2 separate regions of the Homo sapiens genome follow, and region 2 is linked to region 1. Evidence: promoter capture Hi-C in human tissues and cell types (Jung and others, 2019). All regions are on one chromosome and are shown on one strand. Each heading gives the region's core, a stretch centred on a gene start or on the middle of the fragment in contact. The rest is flanking DNA. Distances are from core to core; before and after follow the strand shown. Region 1 holds the start of PRRC2B (proline rich coiled-coil 2B). Region 2 overlaps LOC105376299 (a long non-coding RNA gene).

Region 1 (3,905 bases), core at 566-3,065:
GTATTTTTAGTAGAGATGGGGTTTCACCATATTGGTCAGGCTGGTCTTGAACTCCTGACCGCATGATCCACCTGCCTCGACCTACCAAAGTGGTGGGATTACAGGTGTTAGCCACTGCGCCAGCCTTACAGATGAAGAACCTGAGGCTCAGTTTATTTATTTAATTTATTTTTTATTTGTTTATTTGCCTTCTATCATTTTTATTAGTTGCTGGGTTTTGAGCACTGGGCCAATTCTATGGCCTTCCTGAAGATGGTCAAGGAACAAAATCGAAAACAAAAATTAGGGTTACATCCTCCCTGTTTTGTAGAGATAGCGAAATATTGAAGACATTGGCAGGGGAATAATGCAGATTTGATGATGTAAAACAGAGTGGCCGGCACTGTAATCCCAACACTTTGGGAGGCCAAGGTAGGTGGATCACTTTAGCGCAGGAGTTCCAGACCAACTTGGCCAACATGGTGAAATCCCATCTCTACCAAAAATACAAAAATTAGCTGGGCATGGTGGCAGATGTCTGTAATCCCAGCTACTCAGGAGGCTGGGGCAGGAGAATCGCTTGAATCTAGGAGTTGGAGGTTGCAGTGAGCAGAGATTGCGGATTGTGCCACTGCACTCCAGCCTGGGGGACAGAGCGAGACTGTCTCAAAAAAAAAAAAAAAGAAAAAAGAAAAAAAGGATAACACTGAAAATGACCATGGATAAAATGTAGGAAAATTCAGAGAATTATAAATAAGGCTATAAAAGTATCCAGAATTCTACTCCCCAAAAACTAAGCTTTGTTCACCAGCCTCAGTTCTGGAGTTAGGCTGAAGTGGGTTAATTTTCCTTCTGGGTCCAGCAGTGTGGCCTGGGGCACATTCTCTCAAAGCCTCCTTTGTCTCACCTGTGAATTAGAACAATAATATCTGCCCCTGGGTTAGGATTAAGTGAGACAAACCACGTGCTTTAGCATAGGGCATGGCCCGCAGCTGGTGCTTAGAGCAACCGTGACTGGAAGAGGGTGGGATGATTTGGGTGCCAGGCCCTAACATTTTTTTTTTGTATTTGCTTTTTGAAATTGCTTTTATAGTTGGTTAGGTGTCTAAAAAAGTAAGAACCCTCCTCCGCTCTCCCAACCTCAAACCACGGAGGTAACCAAGACAGGAGTGCAGTCTCCCGGACCTTTTGTTTTGCAATCACACAAACACACAACACTCAAGAGGAGGGGCTTATTAGTTTTCATTTTGTAAAAATGGGACAAAGTACCCATATTGTGCAACAACCTTGCTTTTGAAATGAAAAAAGTATTATTTCTGCTTCCTTTCCGTTCATATACCGTATACATATTTTAACAAAATCCGGGCTTAGTCTGTTCTGAGGCGCTGCAGTTTTGAAGGGGGAGGGGGCGGAGATCCGGGCTCGCTCCCCCGTCACTGCCCCCTCCATCCCTTCCCCCTCTTTCCGGGCGCCCTTCCCCCGGGCCCAGGCCGGGCCCATGCCCTTCCCAGGCCCCTTCTCTTGGCTCCTGGCCCCTCCTCCGGGTCTCCTCCCCGATCCCCGCTCTGCCCCGTTCTCTCCCGCCTCTCCCGCCGTCCCCGGGCCCCTCCCCACTCCCAGCCCCCTCCCAGCCCCCTCCCGCCGCTCCCCGCCCCTCCCCCCTGGCCCCAGCCCTCGCCCGGCCCCCGGGCCGATCCCAAGGCCGCCGCTCCCGGGAGGCGCGGCAGGGGGCGCTGCGCGGGCCCAGGTTGCGGGCGGCGGCGGGAGGAGGAGGACGAGGAGGCGGGGGCGGCGGCAGGCGGGGGGCGGGGAGCCGAGCGCGAGGGAGCGAGCGGCGAGACAGGCGCCGAGGCTCCACCGCGCAGCGACGAGCGAGCCCGGGAGGAGGGAGGGAGCGAGCGAGCGAGCAGCCCGCGCCGCCGCCTCGCAATCCGCCGCCATCCCGCCGCCCCCGTGCCCGACCGCCGCCCGACTGCCATCGCCCGGCCCGGCCGCGCCCGCGGAACCAGACCAGGTGGGTCGGGGCCGGGGCCGGGGCCGGGGCGTGGGGGCGGCGGCGCTAAGATGGAGGCGGCGCGGCCCGGCCGGGCTTTGTCTCCCGCGGCCGCCGCCGGGGGCCCGGGGGCCCTGCGGCCCTGCCCGACCTTTGTCCGCGAGCGCGGCCGCCGCCGCCTCCTTCCCGCCGGGCGCGGGGCTGCGGGGCTGGGAGGCCGCGGGGCCTGGGGGCGGCGGGCCCGGGCGCGCTCGCCATTGTTGTGGCGGCGCCGCGCGGCCTCAGGCTCGGGCGGGGTCCAGGGGCCGCGCGACTCCCTCAGGGCTCGCCCGCCACCCCCGTACCCCCGAGGCCGGGCCGGGCTGCAGAGGCCGGAGGGGCGGGGGTCCCGGGCCCGCAGCCGGGTCTCGGGGTTCTGGGGCCGGCGTCTTTGCTCCCCGCCCCGCCCAATTGACGGAGCAGCGCGCCCGAGGCGGGATCCTGCGGGGTCGGGCCTTGGGTCCGGGGCGCTGAGCGGCGTTCGCGGGGCCGTTCCTGGCGCGGGGTGGGCCGGGCCCCGGCGGCGCTAAAGTTGGCGGCTGGGGGAGGGAGGCGAGCGGCCGCCCAGTCTCGGTGTGAGTGCGGGAACCAGAGGGTTATTTTCGAAATGCTGAATGCTCCATGCTAAAAATGTTTAATAATAAACAGGATGTCGCCACTCGGGGCCTGCCAGATGGGGTTTTTTTTTTTTTCCTCCTCTTTTGCCTCCCCTCAACCCCCAGGAGAGAAATTCAGCCCTGTTGAAACTGTGGGCCTCTGAAGAGTGGATTTGCCTTAAGAGGTGGATTTTTTTCCTTTTTCTTTTTTCCTCCTTCTAAATATCGTGGGAGGTCGGAGCCCACCTTTAGGCAAGAATTGGAGGTGTTTTCAGTGGTGAGCTTGAAGGAAGTGGGAGAAGGGGGGCTGGGGAGTGTCTTTTGCTAAATGGCTTCCTGGGAGAAATCTTTAAATGCCTTTGGTTTACAGGACTGTTAAACTTTCCCTAAGATTTTTTTTTTCTTTAAGGTTTAGTGTGCATTTGATGTGGCTTTGTACAGTGTCATCCAGTTTGGTTTTTGTAACCAATTGTGTGCGGTCTTAGCATGGTTTTTCCGAATCTCGCTGCAGCCATTTAGTCATGTCTATGCACAGCGCTGTGGTGTAAGGTGGGACTGGGGAGGCCCAGGCATTGGGGTGCAGATCCTGCTTCTTTCTTCCGTAAACCTAGTGACTCTGGGGCTGTCTGAGGCTTCATCTGCATAAATCGGGGCGTGCACCCTCCACCTGGCAGGTTTGGGCAGCGGTGAAGGGCCTAGCAGAGGGCCTGGCACAGTTAGTGGTTCCTCCTACGGTTGTTGGTATAACTGCTGTCAAGTCCTAGGACAGACGTGAGCCCCTTGTGGTGCCACCCATAGAGCCAAACTGTGCCCATGGATGCCACAGGTGCTGGCCTAAGGCATGGACAATACAGAAGGAATTCAAGGCCCAAACATTAGTGGGCGCTTATACAGTGCTGAGCCTCTCGGGAGGCAGGGATGGGAAAAAGTAGCATTTGGAGGTCTCTAGAACTTAGTAGACCCGGAGTGTGTGGCAGTTGGTCAGTTTAAGGCAGGGTTAGAACAGTACGAGATGCTCAGGACAAACAGACGCCCAAGGAGTCCTGCCTTCTGAGGATAACTGCTTTCCTTGGGGATTGGCAGATAATCATCTGAGAGTGAGTTTCTACTTGTTTGGGCAAGTGTGTCTCTTGGAGCCTGCGCAGCTGGATTCTGGTCCTCATCGGGTTACCTTTACAAAGCAAGTCTCTGAGGCTCAGATCTTGCATCTGTAAAATGGGAATAATTATGCCTGCCTTGGGTATCTATTAGGGCTCTTGGGAGCCTCACTTAAGATTCACAGTGAATTGTTTTCTCTC
Region 2 (3,905 bases), core at 862-3,361, 41 kb before region 1:
ATCCCAGGACTTTGGAAGGCTAAGATTAGAGGATTCCTTTGAGACCAGCCTGGGCAACATAATAAGACCCTGTCTGTATGTGAAAAATTTTAAAAACTTAAAAAAAAAAAAGTCTTTCTTCAATAATAAATTAACCCTTAATGTAACTTTTAAAATTTTTACTTTATAAACTTTTTTGAACTTTTTCACTCTTACAATAATGCTTAGTTTATAATGCAAATATATTGCATAGCTGTACAAAAATATTTTCTTTATATCCTTATTCTATAATCTTTTTTCTATTTTTAAAATTTCTTATTTTTTATTTTTTTACTTTTATTTTTTATTTTTATTTATTTATTTATTTTGAGACGGAGTCTCGCTCTGTCACCAGGCTGGAGTGCAGTGGCGTGATCTTGGCTCACTGCAACCTCCAACTCCCAGGTCCAAGTGATTCTCCTGCCTCAGCCTCCTGAGTAGTTGGAATTACAGGCACGCGCCATCACACCCGCCTAATTTTTGTATTTTTATTAGAGACGGGGTTTCACCATGTTGGCCAGGATGGTCTCAATCTCCTGACCTTGTGATCCAACCACCTCAACCTCCCAAAGTGCTGGGATTACAGGTGTGAGCCACCATACCTGGCCTATTTTTTTACTTTTAAAAGTTTTTTGTTAAAAACTGAGACACAAGCCAGGTGAGGTAAGATATGCCTGCAGTCCCACCTACGGGAGGCTGAGGCAAGGGGATGACCTGAACCCAGTCTGGGCAACACAGTGAGGCCCTGTCTCTTATTTAAACAAAACAAAACAAAGACATTAGCACACACATGAGCCTAGGCCTACACAGGGATAGAATCATCAGTATCACTGTTGTCCACCTCCACATCTTGACCACCTAGAAGGTTTTCAGGGGCAATAACATGCATGAAGCTGAGATATGTGATAATAATGCCAGTGGGCTTGGTGGCTCATGCCTGTAATCCCAGCCCTTTGGGAGGCTAAGGTGGGCAGATCACTTGAGCCCAGGAGTTCAACACCAGCCTGGGCAACATGGCAAGACCCCGTCTCTACCAAAAAATACAAAAAGTTAGCCAGGTGTGGGGGCTTGCACCTGTAGTCCCAGCTACTTGGGAGGCTGAGGTGGGAGGATCGCCTGAGAGTAGGAGGCGGAGGTTGCGGTGAGCTGAGATGGCACCACTGCACTCCTGGGTGACACAGCAAGACTCTGTCTCAAAAAAAAAAAACAAGGCTGGGTGTGGTGGCTCTCGCCTGTAATCCCAGCACTTTGGGAAGCTGAGGTGGGTGGATCACCTGAGGTCAGGAGTACAAGACCAGCCTGGCCAACATGGAGAAATCCCATCTCTACTAAAAAAGTACAAAAATTAGCTGGGCATGGTGTTGTATGCCTGTAATCCCAGCTACTCGGGAGGCTGAGGCAAGAGAATTGCTTGAACCCAGGAGGCGGAGGTTGCAGTGAGCTGAGATTACACCGCTGCACTCCAGCCTGGGCAATAGAGCCACACTCTGTCTCAAAAAGAAATAATAAAAAATACTAGGTTCAATACATAATCATATGCTCCTGCTGTTCTTTTACACCAGCATCACCACAAACACATGAGTAACACATTGTCGTAGACATTGTGACAGCTACGATAGACTGGGCGATAGGAATTTTTCAGCTCCATTATAATCGCATGGGACGACAGTCATACGTGCGGCCCATCATTAACCAAAACATTGTGGTGTGGGACTGTACCACATCGTGCTTGTCCATTCCTCTGCTGAGGGATGTTTCAATTGTTCCCACCTTTTGGCTGTTGTGAATAACCTCGCTATGAATGTTGGCGTACGAGTTCCTGTTTGAGTCCCTGCTTTCAATCCTGTGGGCATAGACCTAGGAATGGAATTGCCGTGTCATATGGTAACTCTGTGTTGAACTTTCTGAGGAATAGCCAAACCGATTTCCAAAGTAGAGACACCATTTTCGTTCCCACCAGCCATTTCTCCACATTCTTGCCAACACTTGTTACTTCCCATTTTTTTAATTAGAGCCGGCTCTAATAAAAATTAGTGGGTATGAAGTTGTATTTCATAGTGGTTTTGCTTTGTTTGGGACAAGGTCTCATTCTGTCACCCAGGCTGGAGTGCAGTGGCCCGATCTCTGCTCATTGCAGCCTCAACCTCCCGGGCTCAAGTGATCCTCCTGTTTCAGCCCTCTTTGCTCATTTTAAAATTGAATTGTCACCTGTAATCCCTGCACTTTGGGAGACCAAGGCAGGCAGATCACTTGAGGCCAGGAGTTTGAGACCAGCCTGGCCAACATGGTGAAACTCTGTCTCCACTAAAAATATAAAAATTAGCCGGGTGTGGTGGCATGCACCTGTAATCCCAGCCACTCAGGAGGTTAAAGCAGGAGAATCACTCGAACCCGGGAGGCGGAGGTTGCAGTGAGCCAAGATTGCGCCACTGCACTCCAGCCTGGGTGACAGAGCAAGACTCCGTCTTAAAAAAAAAAAAAAAAAAAAAAAGGCCGGGCGCAACGGCTCACGCTTGTAATCCCAACACTTTGGGAGAATGAGGCGGGCGGATCATGAGGTCTGGAGATCAAGACCATCCTGGCCAACATGGTGAAACCTTGTCTCTATTAAAATACAAAAAATTAGCCGGGCGTGGTGGTACACGCCTGTAGTCCCAGCCACTCAGGAGACTGAAGCAGGGGAATCGCTTCAACCCTGGAGGCGGAGGTTGCAGTGAGCCGAGATCGTGCCACTGCACTCCAGCCTGGCGACAGAGTGAGACTCCGTCTCAAGAAAAAAAAAATTGAATTATAGGGGTTATTTATATAATCTGGAAATTAAACCCTCATCAATATGTGATTTGCAAATGTTTTCTTCTGTGGATTTTTTCATCCTTCATAGTGTCCTTTGATGCATAGAAGTCTTTAATTTTAATGAAGTATGATTTATCCATTTTTTCTTTTGTTGCCTGTGCTTTTGGTGTTGTTTAAAAAACCAACGCCAAATGGCCGGGCACAGTGGCTCACGCCTGTAATCCCAGCACTTTGGGAGGCCAAGGCGGGCGGATCACGAGGTCAGGAGATCAAGACCATCCTGGCTAACATGGTGAAACCCCACCAGGCTGGTCTCAAACTCCTGGCCTCTACTAAAAAAAAATACAAAAAATTAGCAGGGCGCGGTGGCGGGCGCCTGTAGTCCCAGCTACTTGGGAGGCTGAGGCAGGAGAATGGCGTGAACCCGAGAGGCAGAGCTTGTAGTGAGCCGAGATAGCGCCACTGCTCTCTAGCCTGAGCAACAGAGCAAGATTCTGTCAAAAAAAAAAACAAAAACAAAAAAACCAAAGCCAACCTCATGCAAATTTTCCCAGATATAGATATAGACATAGATATAGATATATAGTTTGTTTTTTTTTTTTGAGACGGAGTCTCACTCTGTCACCCGGGCTGGATTGCAGTGGCCGGATCTCAGCTCACTGCAACCTCCGCCTCCCCGGTTCAAGTGATTCTCCTGCCTCAGCCTTCTGAGTAACTGGGATTACAGCCGCACACCACCATGCCTGGGTAATTTTGTATTTTTAGTAGAGACGGGGTTTCACCATGTTGGTCAGGCTGATCTCGAACTCCTGACCTCAAGTGATCCACTCACCTAGGCCTCCCAAAGTGCTGGAATTATAGGCATGAGCCACGTCACCCAGGCTCCCATGTATTTTCTTCTAAAAATTTTATAGTTTTTTGCCTCTTAAGTTTTGGTGTTCAATCCATTTTGAGTAAATTTCTGTATGTGGTGTAAGACAAGGATCCAACTTCATTCTTCCGCATGTGGATACCCTGTTTACCTAACACCACTTATTGAAGAGGCTTCTTTCTCCCATTAAATGGTCTTGGCAACTTTGTTGAAAAGCACTTGA

The links. The method cuts DNA at HindIII sites, captures the fragments that hold promoters and counts their contacts. A contact is called where the count stands out against the background at its distance.
Region 2: a fragment that was not itself captured here is called in contact with the fragment with the promoter of PRRC2B in region 1 in 1 of the 25 tissues and cell types used here (spleen).

The regions. Positions count from the first base shown.
Region 1 is chr9:131,392,271-131,396,175 of GRCh38, forward strand. PRRC2B (proline rich coiled-coil 2B) reads left to right here and starts at 1,816. Exons shown (of 32, transcript NM_013318.4): 1 at 1,816-1,993. RefSeq lists enhancers at 1,040-1,189, 2,316-3,077, 3,840-3,905 and silencers at 1,660-1,849, 1,880-1,989, 2,220-2,509. The HindIII fragment of the contact is 30,479 bases long and covers 1-3,905 here.
Region 2 is chr9:131,351,392-131,355,296 of GRCh38, forward strand. The region is part of intron 3 of LOC105376299 (a long non-coding RNA gene); the gene reads left to right. Among named protein-coding and RNA genes, the nearest start is that of PRRC2B, 41 kb to the right of the region's middle. RefSeq lists an enhancer at 709-1,210. The HindIII fragment of the contact is 5,352 bases long and covers 1-3,905 here.